Linked DNA regions of Homo sapiens: regions 2 and 3 are each linked to region 1. The links are contacts of gene promoters, found by promoter capture Hi-C in human tissues and cell types (Jung and others, 2019). All regions are on one chromosome and are shown on one strand. Each heading gives the region's core, a stretch centred on a gene start or on the middle of the fragment in contact. The rest is flanking DNA. Distances are from core to core; before and after follow the strand shown. Region 1 holds the start of PHLPP1 (PH domain and leucine rich repeat protein phosphatase 1). Region 2 overlaps SERPINB5 (serpin family B member 5). Region 3 overlaps RELCH (RAB11 binding and LisH domain, coiled-coil and HEAT repeat containing).

What was found. Contacts are between HindIII fragments. The study calls those that stand out against the background at their distance.
Region 2: a contact is called between a fragment that was not itself captured here and the fragment with the promoter of PHLPP1 in region 1, in 1 of the 25 tissues and cell types used here (lymphoblastoid cells).
Region 3: a fragment that was not itself captured here is called in contact with the fragment with the promoter of PHLPP1 in region 1 in 1 of the 25 tissues and cell types used here (dorsolateral prefrontal cortex).

Annotation. Positions count from the first base shown.
Region 1 is chr18:62,713,642-62,717,869 of GRCh38, reverse strand. It overlaps PHLPP1 (PH domain and leucine rich repeat protein phosphatase 1), which reads right to left and starts at 2,329. Exons shown (of 17, transcript NM_194449.4): 1 at 611-2,329. The coding sequence starts at 2,186. RefSeq lists silencers at 746-865, 966-1,065, 1,376-1,515, 1,726-1,955, 2,306-2,595 and enhancers at 946-1,908, 2,866-2,975, 3,066-3,125. The HindIII fragment of the contact is 18,418 bases long and covers 1-4,228 here.
Region 2 is chr18:63,481,722-63,485,949 of GRCh38, reverse strand. It overlaps SERPINB5 (serpin family B member 5), which reads right to left. Exons shown (of 7, transcript NM_002639.5): 2 at 1,354-1,528. The coding sequence starts at 1,521. Among named protein-coding and RNA genes, the nearest start is that of SERPINB5, 6.9 kb to the right of the region's middle. The HindIII fragment of the contact is 3,293 bases long and covers 548-3,840 here.
Region 3 is chr18:62,199,451-62,203,678 of GRCh38, reverse strand. All of the region lies in intron 1 of RELCH (RAB11 binding and LisH domain, coiled-coil and HEAT repeat containing), which reads right to left. Among named protein-coding and RNA genes, the nearest start is that of RELCH, 14 kb to the right of the region's middle. The HindIII fragment of the contact is 3,113 bases long and covers 664-3,776 here.

The DNA.
Region 1 (4,228 bases), core at 1,080-3,579:
GAAATCGAGCAAAAAAAGCGCTGGGGAAAAGTATCAGTTAAAAAGGCACCCTTTTGTCAGATTTCTAATGAGGGCTCCGTGGGTAATTTATGAGTGTGGCAGAGCTGAATAAACAAAGGCACCAGTTGACAAGTCAGGAGCTCCCGGTGGCACATACAGCTAGAACGCTCAACTGGACAGTCAAATGCAGGCAAAAGTGTGATAGAGCATTTTTATTGTCATTTCTTCTGTCCGTCTTATGCTCACGTGACAGTTTACCTGAAATCCCAAACTGCCTGAAACCCAACATGCCCCTGAGGAAGCACCTTTATGGTTAAAGGTGCTCTTGCCGCTTTCAGAGGGATCTGCTTCCTGTACTTCCTGGTGATTCAGCCACCTCTTTCACATTGCTTTCCAACCTCTGAGCCCTCAAGATTGATAAAACGTGCAGATTTAAAGATTGCTCAATCTAGTACTACACAGACTGTATGAAAAAGCTGTAAAGTTTAAGACAAAGACTCATCAGGACCCGCACTTACTCTTGGGTTGGGCAAACTGACAAGCAATTTGAATCACTCCTCGGTCCTCGGCAGCTTTTGCAACCACCCGTCAAGGCAGGTGACTTCCTTACCTGCATAGAAGCGGATGAGGCAGCCAATCTCCGAGTCCATGCCTTCCTCCTGCACCCTCCACAGCTCCCCAAATCCCAGTTGGAAGAGGTAGTCATTTTGGATCTGCAATGGCTTCTCCTCCGCCTCCAAGCGCCGGGTGGTCTCTCCGTGGAGCTGCACGTACAGGGTGGGCGGCGGGGGCGGCGGAGGCGCCTTCTCCGCGGTCACCCCGCTCCTCCCGGGGGTAGACTGGAGGCCTCCCGGGGCCACGGCTGCCGCTGCCTTCTCCTCGCACGACCCCTCGCGGACGGCCCCGCCCGGGCTGTCAATGGCCCTCGGGGCTTTCTGCTGCGGCTGAGGCGAGGAAGCCGTCTGGGGAAGCGGGAGGGGCTGCGCGGGGTGGCCGGGACGGCGGGGCTGGCCCGGGACCCCCGTCGGGGCCGAGGCTGCGTCGGCCTCGAGCTCTTCCGACGACGACGAGGAGCCGCCGCCGCTGCTGTAGGGGTCCAACCGGTCAGACACGCTCTCGGCGCTGGGACTCAGACTGAAGCTCTCGGTGTCGGAGACCACAGGCCGTGGGGCGCGGGGCGAAGAGACAGGGCCCCCAACGAACGGCTCGCCGGGGCTGGAGTCCGAGGGCGCTGGGCTGGCGCGGCGCGACCACCCGCCCGGGCCGCCGACGGGCAGGGGTAGGTCGGCGGGGGGCGCGCGCGGAGGCCCCCCGAAGGCACCCGGCGCGCTCCTCGCGGGCGGTACCTCCGAGTCCCGCGGCTCCGGGGGCGCCAGCCGGGGGCCGGCCTCGGGGGGCGGTTCAGCGGGCTCCCGGGCGGCGGCGGCTCCGGGCCCCTGGCCCAGCACCTTCACCACGCCGCCGCCTTTGTGGCCCAGCTGCAGCAGGCGGGCGGCCACCTCGCCGGCCGTGGTGTCCAGTGTGCAGAGCACCGGGCGCAGGTAGGTCGAGGCCATGTGGCGGTCGAAGACGTGCACGCAGCCGCGCTGGAGCTGGTGCCTCACCCAGTCCCGGTCCGACGGCTGCAGCTGCAGCGTCTGCCGGTGCTTCAGAAGCAGCGTCTTCCTGTCCAGGCTCCGGGTGCACAGCGACGCCGAGGCCGAGCAGGAGGCGGGGAGGCCGGCAGCGCCGGGGGAGTGCGAGGCAGCAGCGGCCGAGGACGACGACGACGAGGAGGCGGCCGCGGCGGCCGCGGACAGATTCCTCTTCAGCCGCCCTCTCCTCAGCAGGAGGGAGTTGGCGCCGCCGCCGGCCCCGGGTACGGGGGCAGCCCCGCCGGCAATGGGCTGGGGCGCCCCGCGCCGCCTCCTGCGCCCGGCACCCCCCGCTCTGCCCGGCAGCGGCCCCGGCGGCGCCTCGCCTGGGGCCTCTTCCCGCGCCCCGCTGCCGCTGCCGTTCCCGCCGCTCGGGGCCGCCGGGGTCAGCGCGGGCTCCGGACTCCGGCCGCCCCCGGCCGCCGCCGCCAGAGCCGCCGCGGCCGCCGCTGCTGCTGCTGCTGCCGCAGCGGCGGCCGCCGGAGCCGAAGCTCGGTCCTCCCTGCCGAGCTCGGGGAGTCGCTGTACCGTGGCCGCGGCGGCGGGCTCCATTGCAGTGGGGCTTCGCGTTTCCCCCCCAGCTCCGGAGGCAGCGGGCGGAGAGGGAGGCGATGAGGCGGAGGTGGGAGACGGCGGCGGCGCGCGGAGAAGGGAGAAGCCAATGGCGTTGTGCGCGGCCGTTCCAGGGGATTATGTGGCGATTCGGAGCATTCCGTCGGTGTCTCAGTGTTCCATCCCGCGCGCCCGCCTCGCCGCCACCGCCCCCCCGACACACGCCCTCCCCGCCCGGGTCGCGGGCTCCCCAGCGCCGGCCCCGCCCGCTACCCCCGCCTCAACCCGGCGAACCAGCCGCGGATCTGGGCTCATTGAATATTAATCATGCGCCGGGAGCGGGAAGGCGGGAGGCTGGCAGGGCGGGAGGGCCGCGTGTGCCTCATAAATATTCATCGCCGGCATGACGGCATTCCAGGGAGGAGTGGGGAGAGCCAGGGGATGGCCGGAGGCGGAGCTTCAGGGTAAACAAACGTGACGCGTGCGTACGAGGGCGGGGTGGGGGGCAGTTTCCCGGGAGGTTCCTGAGCCGGCCTCGGAGAGGGCAGTGAAGACCGACGCGCGCGGTAAACCTTGGGAGTTGTGGTTCTCGTAAGGGGATCGGCAATCCCGAGGGAAACATGGTGGACTACAAGTCCCAGCGGTCCTTTGGTTCTGCTTCTCCTGGCCGCCAGCAGCTGGCCGTGGCCAGTGAGTATTGTGCCCTCTGCCGTTGAACTCTGTGCCAGAGTTCTTAATGAACACGAATGCTCATGTTCATTAACTTGTATTTTACCCGCACTCCAGCTTGCCAGATGACTTTTATTTTCCCTACTAATTAAAGGTGAGGGCTTTCAGGGACTGTAAACGTACGAAGGTCGCAGGTCCTGGTCCTCACCTGCGCCCATTGTATGAGATAGAGATACACACCCGTCACACCACAGCATCACTGGCAGTCTGAGTGGGCCAACCTCACTTTTTCCCCACTTTTTCAAGACCCAGGAAGACAGGCAGCGTCTGGGAATTCTAACTGAGGCTGTCGTTGAATGTGCTTGTTCGAAGGCACAACCCTAAGTCTGTCCTCTCCCTCTCCTGTACCTGAAAAGGAAAATAGCAAAGGACTGAGGTTTCATTGTTTCCCATTGCTCTTGAAGTCTGAAGTAGTTTAATGACACAGAAAGCACTGGTAAGTAGAAGAAACATTAGAATGGAGTATGAGATGGGCTTTTTCCACGTGTTCTGTCTTAACGTCTTCTCTGGTTTTTTTCTTTCATCATTCAGGGAAAAAAAAAATAGTTTCTACTGCCACAATGTTTAGTCGTGGTCTGAAAAGTTGTATTTTTCGTCAGTTGAATCAATGTTGTAATCATTGGGCAGTTTACTATTTAAAAGAATGTTGTACACCTTTTTAATTGAATTACCATTCCCCCAATTGCTTTGTAATTCGGGATTTTTCTTTTCTTTTTTTCTTTCTTTTTTCTTTTTTTCTTTTTTTTTTTTTTTTTTTTGGCCACAGAGTGGGTCTGTCGTCCAGGCTGGAGTGCGGTAGCGCGATCTGGGCTCACTGCAACCTCCGCCTCTCGGGCCCAGGTGATTTTCCCACCTCATCCTCCGAGTAGCTGGGACTACAGGGCTTGCCACCAAGCCCGGCTCATTTTTTGTATTGTTTTAGTGGGGGTGGGAAGTCCCTTCATGCTGCCCCGGCAGGTCTCAAGCGATCTGCCCGCCTCAGCCTCCCAAAGTGCCGAGATTACAGTCGTGAGCCACCGCGCCAGGCCCTAAATCCGGATTTTCACATGTGAAACTTTTAAACAGTTTTAAACCACATACTATCTATGACCTGTTTTAACCTCAATAAAGTGACTAAACTTGCAGATGAAGAGTGAAGGGGGTTGGAGAGAGAGACCAACTGGAACTTACCGCTTAGGTTATCACAGTTTCATTGAACAAGAATGAAGAAGCTGTGGAGATAAAAATAAATATTTCTCAATGATTTTTTACATTCCTGATGATTTTCTGTATTTTCATTTAAAGTTTCACCCCTTAGCCTCATGAATCTATTA
Region 2 (4,228 bases), core at 945-3,444, 770 kb before region 1:
GTCAGCATAAGATGACACCCTCCTCGCTCCATAACTCATAATGGCCATGCTGTGATTCCACAACCCAGATAACGAACGCTGCCAAACCGGCACATTGTCCCAATGAATTACATAGCCTCAGCATTGCAGGGTCAAATGCTGGTCCCAGACAGTGCATAACTCTCATGCCTAAAGATGGATGAAGGAGACCAGAAAATTTAAGAGCCCAGGTAACTACTGCTGGGGAACCAGTTGCATATACTGAGAAGAGCTTGAGGAATTACTGAGGAACAGACCCACTACCCGGAAGTTCTCTTTCGCTGGCCTTTCTCTAATGGTAGATGAGAAATGAGGAATGGGAGATTGGGTAGGGATAGTGGAGTTGCGCAGTTCAGAGATGTGGCTTGATGTCAAGATACATCTCCTCTTCACAGGAGTGAAGCTGCTTCAAGTCCCAAGTGTAAATTCTTCATCCTTACCTAAATAACTCTTATGGGCCATACTTTCTGGACACATATGAATACAAGAAGGTGTTGCCTTTTTAAATGCTTATGAGCTAATAGAAAAGAAATTCTATTGAACCTAGAATGATTAGCATAAGAGTAATAATGAAATAGAATTAGAAGAACATTCACCTATTATGTAAAAGTACATGAGGACTTAAAACGGAACAATCAGGAAAATTGTCTCATTTGAAGGTCTAAGAACTTTACAAAGCTAGATAATCAACCATAGCCAGAAAGAAACCCTAAAACGATACAGATGCTGCTTGATTTATGATGAGGTTACATCTCAATAAAACCATTGTAAATTGAAAATATTATAAGTCAGAATGAAAAAGCTGTGATTACCCAGCAGATCTCCAGGTTCTCCATCACAGCCTGGTGCCTGTCCCAGATGTGAGTTGCATTACCTACAAGCGAGCTTTCACATTTAAAAATAAATTAAGATGCCTGTAATCCCAGCATTTTGGGAGGCCGAGGCAGGCGGATCACCTGAAGTCAGGAGTTCGAGACCAGCCTGGCCACATGGTGAAACCCTGTCTCTACTAAAAATACAAAAATTTGCCTGGCGTTGTGGCACGCGCCTGTCATCCCAGCTACTCGGCAGGCTGAGGCACAACAATCGCTTGAACCTGGAGGCTGCAGTGAGCCAACATCGCACCACTGCACTCCAGCATGGGTGACAGAGTGGGACCCTGTCTCACAAAAAAAAAAAAAAAAAAAAAAGATTAAGAGAGTCCTGGAATGGCACAGTTCTGAATCTTGACCAATTCTGGCCACAAAGTCTACATTCCTTTTTTCCGTAGGCACTGCCTATGGGTTCTAATAACTGTATTCCCACTTAAAGTAGAAACAAGGTTTTGGGGCTTACCTGTCCAATTTCATTTGCAGTGTCACCTTTAGCACCCACTTGAGCAAGTGACAGAGAGGTGGAGAGACAGATTGGAGAGAAGAGGACATTGCCCAGTGGCTCCTTTTCACATAGTTGTTTGAACAGATCAACGGCAAAAGCCGAATTTGCTAGTTGCAGGGCATCCATTGCGGGCCTGGAAGCAAGGACAAGGGAGCAGTTAGTTTCTAAAGCATCTTTAACGTCTTCTCAACTGCATTCTGCCAACACTATAAGAATTCTATTTAAACAAAGTAATTGATCTCAGAAGAAACAAGGAACTTTCTGTAAATTCAAAAGTAAGATCAGTTGTGAAGAAACTTCCAGGCAAATGTCTGAAGGCATGTGAGGTCCTCTGTGTGTCCAGCTCTGCCTAGACTCTGCAGTCTTGGGCCTGCTCAGCCACAGTGGCCATTGTCGGGAGCCCAGTGGTCACATCTCTTCTCCAGCATATGTCAGAAAAGTTGACAGCACTAATCAACATCAGTTGGTTTTATTTATCACATATTGTTTCCATTAGGATTTCAGTTAAACTACAAAGTTAAAACTTTTATAAAACAAAAACAGTCGAATTGCAGCAGTTTTGCATTGTTCAGTTTAATATTTAGTAAGTGTAATGGGTTGAATTGTGTCCCCCAAAAAGATATGTTAAGTCCTAATCCCCATTACCTGTGAATGTGACCTTACGTGGAAACAGGGTATGTCCTATTTCTTAACTAATATATAATTAGTTAAGATGAAGTTACATTGGAGTTAGGTGAGCCCTAATCCGATATGACTGGTGTCCTTAAAGGAATAAGAGGAGAGACACAGAAACAGACATACACAGAGGGAAGATGTGAAGACACAAATGTCTTCACCTGTGTGAAGGGCATGCCGTATGGCAATGGAGGCAGAGATTGGAGGGATGCTTCCACAAGCCAAAGAATGCTAAGAACTGCTGGCAACACCAGAAACCAAGAGAAAGTCATGGAACATTCTCCCCTGGAGCCTTTTGAGACAGCATGACCCTGCCGACATCGTCATTTCAAAGTACTGGCCTCCAAGCCTGTGGGTGAATAAAGCTTCTGTTGCTTTAAGCTGCCTGGTTTGTGGTGCTTTGTGAGAAGTGCTAGAAAACCCTTAAAGTAACTAATGCCTTTGCAGGACACCCAGCACATAACAATACTTAATAAACAGCAGCGGTTATTGTTTGCGTTTATAATACGCATCTGTGTGTAAGACACTACCCAGAGTGTTACAAGGATCAGTGGACCTCCTCCTTCTCTAAGCTCATAGTCTCTTTGGGCAGATATGCAGACAAATAACTAGAATACAGAGCTGCCCAAGACATGTGAGTGGTATAATAAGTAATATGGGAGTTAAAGAAAAGAGGGAACAGTTTCAAAATATGTAGCCTGGTAAAGTGGATATAGCAGCAACTAGGCATCTTGTCACATCTCAGAGCTCTTTAATTTTAACACAGCAACTTCCAAAGTGTTGTGTCTTGACTCCTGGCAGTCCCTAACACCCTTTCAGGAGGTCCATGAGGTTAAAACTATTCTCATGATAATACTAAGACATTATCATTCTCAATCTCTAATAGACAGCGGAGTTTTCCAGAGGCTATATGACATCCCTTCTATTAAGCCAAATATTAAGGAGATTTGCAAAAATGAAAAACAATATCACTCTTCTCATTACATTTTTTCACTTTAGAAAATGTTTTTTAATATATATATTATTCATATTAGTATTTAATTATTATATTATTTTAATAAATTAGTAAATGAACATTTCAAAATGTGTCTGGTTTTCATTTCTAGTTTGGTAAATAGTGATAGATATAATCTACATTTTTTTTAAAGAAACAGTTCTTTGGGGTCCTCGGTAATTTTTAAGAGTGTAACAGGGTCCTCAGATTTAAAAAGCTTCACTGTTCTAATAAAGGTCTACCTACCTATTTAGTCTGGTAGTTACTGATCGACTCCAAAGACAATTAGGTAAATTCAGGCAGTCAGGGCTTCCCTTTCTGGGAGCAGAGCTGAACTACATGAACTCCTGAGGTTCTGCCTAAGCCAGGACAGCATGTTTCTAAGGGAAATGAATTGATATTACTACCCCGGGGTGAGCAGTACAGGGATTAAACTCGAAGTGTTCCCCCAAAGCCTCAGGCGCACACACACAGACACAAGGGCCGAATGTGACATTGAAGGTCTTCAGGTAGGACATGCACCCTGGCATTAGAAAGTAAGCTCCACTGCTTAAGATAGAGGACTCCCTTTGGCCAGTACCCAAACGTGTGTCAAGAGTCAAAGGCATGATGAATAGGATTGCAATTTGCACCTTATACCTGGACACAAATTCAGAATGCAAAGACGAGAATAAGATGGAGGAGAGGACTCCTGGTCTTTAAACATTTCTTCAGAATTCTCCCTTTTATGGGATATATGGCTTGTGTGTAGGATGGACTTAAATCGATTATATCTCAGAGTCTGAAAAAGCGAGTTCATTATCCAAAAATAATGTTTTATTGACTCTGTTCATGCTCACTGGTCATTTCCATGGGCTTCCTCCTTCTCCATATGTCCCTGATAAGTACAGCCATGCGCTCAGGCCAGTTCCCATTGCAAATATACCACGAGGCCCCCTGAAGTCAGGTGGGCCTCTCACTTTTCTTTAAAGCCCACAACCTTACTCCTTCTCCCCTCAGGGCAGGGGCAAGGGCCTACAGGTGACATCACACCCCAGGGAAAGGTGACTGGCATTAGGTGTATACTGAGGTCAGCAGGGTATACTGAGGCAAAAATGAAAGCCTGTTGAGTGTTTCACCCAGTGTGCCTGCCACTGGGAAAACATAAAGAAACTCTTCACAAAA
Region 3 (4,228 bases), core at 971-3,470, 510 kb after region 1:
GCAATATTATTAAGGCTACTGATAAAGTTGATTAAGGCTACTGCTAAATCGCTTTCCAAAATAAGTGTACATAGCAATCTGAATTCCAACAATAATATGTAACAGCATTTGTCAATGTTCAGTATTATTTTTAATCTTCACCAATTTAACATGCTATAAAATTATATTTTGTTTAATTATGTATCTCTTTGATTTCTAGTGAGCTTGGACATTCTTTTTTTTTGAGACAGAGTCTCACTCTGTCACCAGGGTGGAGTGCAGTGGCGCAATCTCGGCTCACTGCAACCTCCGCCTCCCAGGTTCAAGCCATTCTCCTGCCTCAGCCTCCCGAGTAGCTGGGACTACAGGCGCCCGCCACCACGCCCAGCTAATTTTTTGTATTTTTAGTAGAGATGGGGTTTCACCATGTTGGCCAGGATGGTCTCGATCTCTTGACCTCGTGATCTGCCTGCCTCGGCCTCCCAAAGTGCTGATATTACAGGTGTGAGCCACCATGTCCAGCTACATTCTTTCAAAAATATATTGACCATTTATTTTTGGGGTTTGTGTGTGAATTATCTATTCATGTCTTTTGATCTTGTATTTAATATCTAGATATTCCTGATATATTAGTTGATCTGGCCATTGCTGCCCTAAGCAGAAACTCCACTTGAGTACTATCTTCTCTTCTCTTAGGCCCATGTCGTGGCTCCTTATTAGCTACTCTGAAGTCTCTAACCTGCATAGGAAAACATGTACACTCAATGGTGAACTTTTATCAACCAATATTCTGGTGCTGTGATACCAGGCTTCATTGTTTTATTCCTGATTTTAATAGAATGTTAGGTATGGTGTTGGCTGTTAATTTCAGATAAATATTTCTTATTAGGTATCCATCTGTTATTAGTTTACTAAGTCTTTTTCATCTTCCTTCTAATATTTTAAATCATATATACAAGCCTAGATTAGAGCTACTTTGGTCATGAGACATTATTCTTCAATAACACCATTATTATTTCTCTAAAAGTTTTAAAGAACTCATTTATTCAACAGGGAGACTCTTGGGGGAAAGCAAACACACACTTTAATTTTCAACTTGGCATTATCATGGCCGTTGAAAAATATATTTTCTAATTTTTTCTAGTTCCAAGCCAACAACTTCATATTCTCCAGGAAAAAAAAGCTCTGATATCTTTTAATATAATAAATATGATGTCACAAAAGAAAAACAATCTCTCAATTCATTAAAATCTACTCCATCTTGTCAGAAAGAAAAATTATTTATGGAAGAAAGTAATTTTAACTTTGACTGGACTACCCTATATGTACTTTGGATTTTAAGACTAGTAACAGGTTATATTAAAGCTTCAAGGTAAATGTGCTTCTTTAGATTAAGCCACAATTCTTTTCCAGGAGAAGCAAATGCCTTTTGTTTTCCAAATGTCCTAATATACAAGAAGAGTTTGGGAAAATTAGCCTCTTTTATTAAGAATCTACCATATTCTAATATGAAGTATTTTAACTACAGAGCATTTCTTCAAATACCAGGATGCCTATTGTGTAACTTCTTAACAATTCACTTTATAACTCAGAAACAAATAATCAGGTACTTTCATCATAGTTGGTAAACTGGTAAAACCTGTTCATAAGTTTTATCAAGTCTGAGAACTAAACCTATTATACACAGTCGTGCAGATTGATGTTTTAAATCACATACAAAAGTAGTTTTATTTATATTTACATTTAATATTTTAGTACTGCTGAAAAATGTTTTTACTATAATTGAAAAACTTAGTCTCAGATCCTTGAAAACTACATGGCACTTTAAGAACCAAATGCATCAGAAAAACGGACCAGCTGTCGACTAATAAAAGAGTATTGGGTAATTTAAATATTTATTGAACAACTACTGTGAACTAGGTCACTGACAGGAATAGCAAAATAATTTTTTTAAAGGACATGGATATATAAGTCTAAGTAATCATGTTTATATATGCTTACATTTGCATTAATGTTTTTGTAAACATCCACAATACATTATTAATAATAACTGACTCTGAGAAGCAGAAGTACATTTTTCACTACATATTTCTCTTTGTATTATTTGAGCTTTTTGTTTTTACTTTTGGCATTTTCCCCCATAATTACATTTAATATATACTTTAATATGGGCACTTTATAATTTAAAAATCATGAAAGTATCCAATTCACAATTAAATGGAAAAAAAATCAAGCAATTCGCTTTATATTACAATTCTTTCAGTAAAGACGATTTATTCAACCATGCTTAAAAAAATCTGTCATGAGAAAGAAATTTATAATAATAAATTCAATAAATATAAAGATATTGCTAATAACAGACTTACTTTAAAAGTAATTCTATTTAAACCTGAGGTTGTGTGTAAACATTTTAAAATGTTATTCAAGGGCCGGGGGCGGTGGCTCACGCCTGTAATCCCAGCACTTTGGGAGGCCGAGGCAGGCGGATCACAAGGTCAGGAGATCGAGACCATCCTGGCTGAAACGGTGAAACTCCGTCTCTAATAAAAATACAAAAAATTAGCTGGGCATGGTGGCATGCGCCTGTAGACCCAGCTACTTGGGAGGCTGAGGCAGGAGAATCACTGGAACCTGGGAGGCGGAGGTTGCAGTAAGCCGAGATCGCGCCACTGCACTCCAGCCTGGGCAACAGAGCTAGTCTCAGTCTCAAAAAAAAAAAAAAAAAAAAAAAAAAAGCAAAGAAAAAACAGTTATTCACTTAAGGTGGGATCTCAGAGATGTATGTCAAAGAAAGAGAACCTATAAGGCTACTCTAAAATATGAAAGTTAAAAAAATAAGACTATAAATTTTCTACTTTGGAAATAATATAAAATTCATTCAATACTAATGAAAAGTTTCTTTTATGTGGGCACTGTATTTATAAACGTCAGAGTAAAACCACAAAGGTACTCTGCCTCCTCCCACTCAAGGTCAGTTCTGAAATTATTTGGAAGGCTTGGTATAGCAGTAACCTTGGTGATAAAGAAAGGAAAGATGTGAAACACTTTAGAATACACATGATACACCAGAATAGAAAGGCTAATTTCTGGATAGACCAGGATCTTGGTCTATCTCTCCATTAAAAAAAAAAAAAAAAGTTGGGGACAGCCTTTTACTTTTAGCAACTGCGGCACTCACATTTATATTTTCCTGATCCTCAATTCCTCTCCAAAGATGGGGCTAATTTTTCACTGACCTCTATGTCCAAAATATTTGAGAGCTAAAAGGAATTAAGACAGTACAATCCCCTCATTTTTACAGATGAGAGAACTGAAGCTATGTACTTATGCAGTATTTACTAAGCCATAGTGAGGAGTACAAAGATAAAACTTCGGTAAAACTTTGTCCTTGCCTTAAGGAAGCTTATGAATCATTGGAATTAAGTCATATACAGGGATAACAATAATACAATTGGCTTACTTTATCTTAAAGGTTAAAAAATTAATCTGTGAGCAAGCCAGAAGTAGAATTCAAGCCTCCCAGTTTGCAGCCCACTGTCTTTTTCTCTTTGTCACAGGGTTTCAGAAAGAGTGGAACTTCAAAGTCAAGATTTACACTTGGGAAGAAACTTACATGCTGAAACTTTATTGACAAGCTAGTCACTTAAAATTTCTATAATACAAGATGACTTTATCATATGAAAAGCTATTAGTAAAGAGAATGATTATTGTTAGTGATGACAACAATAGTAATTATTATTATTAACATTCTTTTTGACCACTTATTTTATGCCACATACTTTACACAGATAACCTTTCATAACAACCCTGTGCTAAAGGAGTCATTACCATCTGCATTTTACAGTAAAGGAAACAAAGACTATCCAGAGTCATGCAATGAGGGAGTGGCAGAATAGAAATATGAACTCAAGCTCTCCGACAGCAAAGCCTGAGCTCTAAACCATTGGTTCTCTTGAATAATATGTAAGAGCATCCAGGTTCTGATCGCCTAGATTCCAGGTAAGTTGGGTTTGATGTTGTGAATGGCCTCAGAAACAGAGCTTTGATGGAATCTTGCTCAGACAGAGTTGAGGAAATCGGATATAAAGTAAAAGGTTAATTTTCACAAGAAAATATTCCCAACTTATAAATGTTTAGGAAACTACTACCTAAAGATCAATTCTTTAACGTAACTTCAATATTTACTGAAAGCTTGTATGCCAGGCACAATATTAAGTACTGTTGATACACAGATAAATTTTCTATAAAC